2 separate regions of the Homo sapiens genome follow, and region 1 is linked to region 2. The links are contacts of gene promoters, found by promoter capture Hi-C in blood cells and fetal thymus (Javierre and others, 2016). All regions are on one chromosome and are shown on one strand. The core of a region is centred on a gene start or on the middle of the fragment in contact, and the rest is flanking DNA. Distances in the headings are between cores, read along the strand shown.

The links. The method cuts DNA at HindIII sites, captures the fragments that hold promoters and counts their contacts. A CHiCAGO score of 5 or more calls a contact.
Region 1: a contact is called between a fragment that was not itself captured here and the fragment with the promoter of STAMBPL1 in region 2, in 2 of 17 cell types (activated CD4 T cells and naive CD4 T cells). The highest score is 6.8, in activated CD4 T cells.

Annotation. Positions count from the first base shown.
Region 1 is chr10:89,220,890-89,224,797 of GRCh38, reverse strand. It overlaps LIPA (lipase A, lysosomal acid type), which reads left to right. Exons shown (of 10, transcript NM_000235.4): 7 at 968-1,114; 8 at 2,216-2,287. Among named protein-coding and RNA genes, the nearest start is that of CH25H, 16 kb to the right of the region's middle. The HindIII fragment of the contact is 9,936 bases long and covers 1-3,908 here.
Region 2 is chr10:88,878,784-88,882,350 of GRCh38, reverse strand. STAMBPL1 (STAM binding protein like 1) reads right to left here and starts at 2,106. Exons shown (of 11, transcript NM_020799.4): 1 at 1,713-2,106. It overlaps LOC124902551, which reads left to right and starts at 1,687. Exons shown (of 1, transcript XM_047426134.1): 1 at 1,687-2,617. The coding sequence starts at 1,929. The coding sequence ends at 2,456. RefSeq lists enhancers at 1-377, 1,398-1,507 and a silencer at 2,088-2,217. The HindIII fragment of the contact is 2,730 bases long and covers 1,164-3,567 here.

The DNA of each region.
Region 1 (3,908 bases), core at 81-2,580, 340 kb before region 2:
GTGGAGTTGCCCTTTATCCCATGAGGTGAGCCTGTGCACAGAGGATGTAGGAGATGGGAGATAGGAAATGTTCCCAAAAGCCCATCCCTAGCTACACTGAGGGTGACCTAACAACGCTATCATTATTGTATTTTATAATATGGCTCCTAAACACAGCCAGTAGCTTCATCAGGGCTCTGCCCTAAAGCTGTGGCACCCGAACCTCTGTTCAGGGAGGAAATAGATTTCATGAAAAAGAGTTTTAAGCTAGGTAAGACCAGATGTTCTATTATGCATGCATTATATGTCTTTTATGAAATATATGTTCACACACACACATATGAAATCCTGTATAGAAATATATACATGAAATGAGGTATAACGTCTCTCATGGGCCATTTAGAAGACTTAAATAGGAAAGATGGAATCTCCTAGGCTTAGGCAGTCCTTCTGCCTTGGCCTCTCAAAGTGCTGGGATTACAGGCATGAGCTACCATGCCTGGCCAATAAAAAAAATTTTAAAAAACAAAATAAAAAAGCAAGCGATGGGCTGGATTTGGCCTGCTGGCCAGTAGCATTGAATTAGATGGGCACACCTCTGGCAGACATTACTGATCAATCACAGCCTTGACTGTTTCTTAGAAGTAACCACCGATCCATCAGAGTCAGATGAAAATTACTTGGGGATGGCCCTGGGAGGGGTGATCATTAAGGCCCTTTCCCACTGTAGAAGTCCGCTGAAAACTTATTTGATTTTCTGCCTCCTTCTCTTCATTTGGAGAATTTAAATACACCTCTGTAGTGTGTGATTTTTGCTTTGGTAAACTTGTGCAAAAGCATCCTGATTTGATGTCCACTGGTTGCCATTCTCTCCTGAGGCCATTCGTGGAGACATTGGGTACTTGTCTCTGCTTCTGAGGTGAGTCACGGAGACTTATGCACCAGAGTGAAATGCTGAGATGTTCTTGGGTTTCTTTTTATTTTGTAGGACTTATTTGGAGACAAAGAATTTCTTCCCCAGAGTGCGTTTTTGAAGTGGCTGGGTACCCACGTTTGCACTCATGTCATACTGAAGGAGCTCTGTGGAAATCTCTGTTTTCTTCTGTGTGGATTTAATGAGAGAAATTTAAATATGGTATGCATGTTTATAGTAAGATTTGATTTTTTTTTTTATCTGTGAATGTGCTTATTTGTGTTGAATGATATGGGAGAGGTGGGAATGACCTCATCAGAACTCTAAAGAGTCTTTCATTTGAGAGGCACAAGCATGAACTTTGGCCAATGCCTAGAATACGGTACCACCTGCTGCCATCCTCAGGCTGACTGTGGTCACCTTCTTATGTTGTACCTAGATGGAGATTATTGAATGAGGAGATCTGTCACAAATTAAGCTGTAATATTTATAATTACTCTAGTGATTTGTTTCTTTTAGAAATCATTATAAGTATAAACATAAAGATGGGAACAATAGACAGTGGGGACTCCAAAAGGAAGGAGGGAGAGGGACAAGGGCTGAAGCCTGTTGAGTACTATAGCCAATATTGAGTACTGTGGTTATGGGATCAATAGAAGCCCGCATCTCAGCATCATGCAATCCACCCTTGTAACAAACCTGCACATGGACCCCCCGAATCTAAAATACACAAATTTTCAAAAATTACTATAAGTATTTAAATTTGGAACGGCCATTTACATACACATAAGTGTATGCTTGCAGTGTGTGTGTATTTATAAAAGTACATTTTATAAAATGTAAACCCATTTTATTTTATAAAATATAAACCCTTGGCCAATACTATGCCCGTGTTTCTAAATATGTTTGTTAGTTTGTCATGTGGCATTTTGAAAAAAAGGGTTAAAATCCTGGAATAAAGGCCCTAAGGAATTTCAGTGCCATTTTTCTTTTGTCTGATAATTAAAGCAAGGTGTGATTGTTATATGAAATTTGGGAAATTCAGGAAAGCATGAAGAACAAAATGAAAATGCCCTGTAAACGAAACCCACACAGTCCCGTGCTTACCATGTTGTTGCACCTCCTTCATATGGACTTTGTATGTGGTTGTATGTATTTTTATAGGGCAGATTTTTAGTCAAATAATTTTTTTCTACCTCTCATCTCACATACTTGAGATTATGGCTCTAGTTTTTAGTGCTTTGAAGGGCAAAATACAATGTTTATTATCAATGCCACCTTAATGCTGTTTTCATTCTTCATTTCAATGTATTTATTTTGCAGTCTAGAGTGGATGTATATACAACACATTCTCCTGCTGGAACTTCTGTGCAAAACATGTTACACTGGAGCCAGGTAGGCATTCCAGGAGTGCATTTGGGGTTCATGTAAAATCAACATCAGAAAGGTCTGGGCATGCAAACCCTTTCCAAATAGAAAGACAACCTGCTTACAAATCTGATCTGGTTTTCTTCCCCAGAGTCCTGGGTTTTTGTCATCGTGCTTGTGTTGCTTTTGATACCTGTGGTGGGGCACACTGTGTTATACGTGGGTTCACAAACAGCTACTGGGGTTGACATTTTTCTTTTCCCTCCTCTCCCTTCCTCAAGTCTCAGGTTAATATATTCTCTCCCTTTCCTTCTCCCCCAGCTTTCTTTTCCTCCTCCTGTTTCCTCCCCTCCATCTGCTTCTCATTGAGTCCTAGATTTTTTTTATTTCTGTGTTGCTTCATAAAGAGTGATTTTAAGTCCGTTTTGGAGATAGAAACCGCTGTTTCAACACTAACCCCTGATCACAATATGCTTGGAATAGCAGTGAATAAACTGGAGCTAAACCAATGATAGATGTGAATGGGGGCCCCTGACTTTTGAAATACAGTTTTGATTATTTTATCATGTAAATAAGTCATGTTCATTCTAGAAAATTTAGAAACTACATCTAGAAAAAAATTATCTTAAAATGAAAATAAAATCATTCTATAACCCTAGACAGAGAGGAAATGCATATCCATAGATATTGAATGTCTCTGCATTCTATTCTATACCTCTTTTCAAAAAGATGCTGTTAAAGACATGGATAGAAATAGTAGATGTAGAAATAGATTGATTTTTCTCCTGCTTACTGTTTTACAGCTTGCTTTTCTTTTTTCACCTGACAATATGTCAGGGACTTCTTTCTACCTCAGGACATAATTTTGTGCCATTTATTTTTCAGCTAACTTCATTTTTAATATGAAACAACTCACCATTTAAGCCCTAAACCAAGACACTGTAGGTGTCTTGAATAGTAATTTCCAAACACCTGGCAGTCACTGCTTGCATCAGAATCACCAAATTGCTTTAAAAAGTACACTATTTAATAAATCATTGCATTAAAAAAGTAATGAGAGTTGGAATTATAGTGGAATTCTTGGATTGGCTACCATCCAGGCTTATAAAACAAATACTCCTGTGTCCCAATCATTTGGACTAGAGAATCTGTACTTTTATTTTTTCGTTTTATTTTATTTTTTTGAGATGGACTCTCACTCTGTTGCCAGGCTGGAGTGTAGTGGTGCGATCTTGGCTCACTGCAACCTCCGCCTCCCAGCTTCATGTGATTCTCCTGCCTCAGCCTCCCGAGTCGTTTTATTATTTTAAAAAAAAATTTTTTATTGAGGTATAAGTGACATAGAATATTTAAAGTATACAATTTGATATATTTCAGTGTTTGTATACACCTGTGAAACCATCACCATAATCGACACAGCAAATATATCATCATCCTAAAAGGTCCCTGCTGCCCCTTTGTGATACCTCCCCCCATCCCTCCCCTCAATCCCACTGATCTGCTTCCTGTCATTGTAGCTTAGTTTGCATTTTCTAGAGCTTGCATGAGAACAGTCATGCAGTTTATACTTGTTTTTGTCTGGCTTCTTCCACTCAGAATACTTGTTTTGAAATTTTCCTATGTTGTGTATGTCAGTAGTTCATTCCTT
Region 2 (3,567 bases), core at 857-3,356:
GAATCAACCCCAAAGACACTCTCTCCTCCAGAAGCAAATCTCTCTATTGAGGACATCCTCAGGAAACTGGTTCCTCACTACTCCCTCCAAGCCTCCCACAAACCGTAAGAATCCTATGAAACAGGGCAAGAGTACCAAGAAACAGGCCTTGAAGGTTGAGATAGAGGTAAAGGACTTAGGTTATCTGCCTTATAATTTAAATTTTGGTGCTTACTTTATAGGTGAGGATAAGAAAACAAGTTTCTTCTTGAAATTCCCAAGAACCAGTTGCTACATAAATTACAGCCAACGTATACGCAAAAGCAGATTCTTAGTGGCAATTTGCTGTATCTGTGTCTGAACAGAAAACAATCAGCCAATTCATTTTGCAGGTAGATTCCAATAACATTTTATGCCTTTGAATGGAGAAGCTCTCATGGTGCAAATGGTAAACAAAAAGAGCCTACTGCTCAGCGACACATTAACTTGTATTAAAAATAAAGATATGTATAGTGTAGCTACACAATGCCCACTACAATCCAGTGGCAGAGTATATTTTTGAAGTGCAATGTAGCATCCATCCTGAAAACACAAAATTTCCAATGGAAACAAGGTCGGGATAAAAACAAAACACGGTGGCTTAATTTCTGTGTAAAACAACCGTCAAAACCTACCCTCAAAAAAATTGACACGAACAATCAAACATTCAGGTATAATTTATCTGCTGGAACAAATCTACGTTATTGACCTTGACAGGGCCTTAAATCATGAGACCATAAACAAGCATCCTAGTGATATCTATTATGTCTTCGGAAATAGCTTAAAATCCAGGACTTCATGTTATTGTCAGTAATGAGCAAGATGTTTGGAAAGCAGTGTGCTCACTGGGGCTTACTTTGAAAGCTGTCTTTTTTACTTACTACCGAACACTGATTTCCAGGAAGCAAGCCACCCCACCCCACTTCCCAGGCACTTGATTTTTTTTTTCAAACCTCTAGATTGGGTTCCGTTTCCTGAATTACTTATTCCTTACATAAATTTTCTTTTAAACTTCAGCAATTATGGCACCTTAGGCTCTGGGGGTATCAGCAGCGTGGGTTGTTTTAGAGAAAGTTCTGAAAAAAATATGTTTTGGAGACATTCCATTTCTTTGTGCATCTCACTGGGGGCTTTCAGCGAAAGCTTTAAGTTATTCAGGTGAGGGGCAATGTCTTAGTCGCTCATAAAGGGCATAAAAGTAACATCATCTGGAAAGGCATGGCACCTGCTCGGCCGGGGTAAAGGTCCGTTTTTCTAACCCTCGCCCCTCCCTCCTCCACACCGCGCCGCTAGAGACAGTGCAGTGGTCTCTCCCAAGGTCGACATCATCTCCAAGGCTGCAACCCAGGGCTGAACCAAAAAAACAGGCGCACCCACGTATAGGTCACGGCCAGAGTCCCGCCCTGCCACCAGCAGCCAGGTCTTCCTGCCTCCCTATCAAGGTGAAACTAACCCAGAGGGCCCAGCGGAGGGGCGCATACAGGCGGCGCCGATGGAGGCGGCCGATTGCATGACTGGCAGGAAGGAAGCGATCAGCCGCCAAAGTGCATTTTTTCCTCCCCTAGAGCCAGCCCGGGACCGGACGCTGCCAGCGGAAGGGCCGGCGCGCGCCAGGCCACGAGGCAGACGCACCCGCCGTGCGCACTTCCCCGTCCGGTGCGCGCTCTCACTCACGCGCGCGCGCCGCTACTCACTAGCAACCCTTGGTGTCCGCAGCCCGTGTGGGACGGCGACTGCGACGGCTGCCCCCGTGGCTGCCGTGTGGCCTTGGCATCCGTCCGGCTGCTGCAACCCGGGCCGCGGTGGCTTTTGCTGGAAGGCGTTGCAGCGGGGTGATACCGGCACCCGGCGACGAGGCGTCCGCTCGTTTGCCTCGGCCGTGCCTCCTCCCCCTTCTCCTCTGCCGACAGATGGAGCTTTGCTGGTTCCAGTCGCGCGGGCTCCGTGCGTCGTTCTCCTCCTCGCTGTCGGACACCCCAGCGCAGGGGACGAACAGCGTCCTCGCAAGCCCACGCGCAGGCCGGCCGACCCCGAACCTGCAGCAACCGTCCCTGCTGCCGCTGCTGCAGGAAAATAAATTGTCACTGCGATGGTCCCGGCCTCCCCTGCCCCGGCCCCTGGGTGCCGCCTCCGCCTCTGCCTCCGCCCCCTCCTCTGTGGCGGCGGCGGCGGCTTCCCGCATTCTGCAGAAAAAGCTCGCAGGTGGAAGGAAGCAGGGCCCCTGCGGATGGCCTAGAGCCCGAGTGAAGCGGTTGGGTGCGACTTTCGCATCTGAAACCCTGCACGTCTTCTCCCCAGACCGGAACCACCTAAACTCCCTTTTGCTCCACCATCAATTTCACCGAGATGGACAGGAGTGGTGCCTTTTAAGACTGCACAGTACACAAGCCTTGATGCAGCTGACCGTTAAACTGTCACTGGAGTCTGGGGAAGGATAGGGTTTTGGTGAAAATCCCACTTATACTTCATGTTAGGATTCCCTTTTTGATATTTATCCACAACTGGCTACGCCCACTATTAAGCATCTTAGCCCTTCCCCCTACCCCCAATTTGTGTGTACTTGGAAAATAAGAAGTATTAGAATATCTCCTGGATGTTATGTTACTATCACGTGTGGTGTTCTTACTACAGTTCTGGCACTGTGTCAGGCAGTCGGTACACAAAATCTTAGTCCATCTGCCACAACCCTGTATATAAAAGGGACTCATTTTTTGTTTTTGTTTTTGTTTTTTCCATGAACGAGAGACAGAGAAGTAAAATAATTTATCCCAGGTTACTCACCTAGAAAGCAGTAGAAGCTGAAATTTAAACTCTGATCCAACACTGAAAGCTGTTTCTATTGGCTTCACAGGTTCTATTAACTGATAAACATTTTATGGAGACTGCTGCTGCTGGATGAAATAGAGTCGCTTTTCTTGAGCTTGGTTGGGAGCTTACTTCCAAGTGAGAGAAATGGCTGCAGAGTGGGGTGGGGAAACACTGGCTTTTCTTAGTTAGCCTTTCCTCTGGAAACCAAAATTCTAGCCCTGGCTCAGCCACCAACTGAGTTATTTGGTCTCAAGCATTTCACCTTCTTAAGCCTCATCTCCCTGGATTCTTTTTTTTTTTTTAAATGAAGAGTTTGATTGTTGGAGGCAGCCTGCAGCCTTGATTTTTAAGAAGCAACAGTGTTGTTTTGCTTAGTTTTAAGTTGGTTCCAAATGTTGAAGTTAGGAAATTTCACAGAAATTCAGACTTTTCACATTTTCTGTAAAATCGTAACATCAGACATTTGGTCCATGGCGAGTTCTAGCAACCATCAGCTGAAGCTGAATAGCAGGTGTCGCCTTTAGACTGTGAAGACACTCTTCAGTTTTCCACAGTCCCCACCACTCCCATACACCCCCACCTCACTGACATTTGAGAATATGGTAGGCATTTGAGTTTGCAGTATTGAACCAGATAATCTCATGACCTACTGGACAATTTAAAATTCAGTGGTAATTAAGAAGGTTAGCCAGATTCCTAAAAAGCATTATGAAACAAAAAATTCCACGTACGTATTTAGAG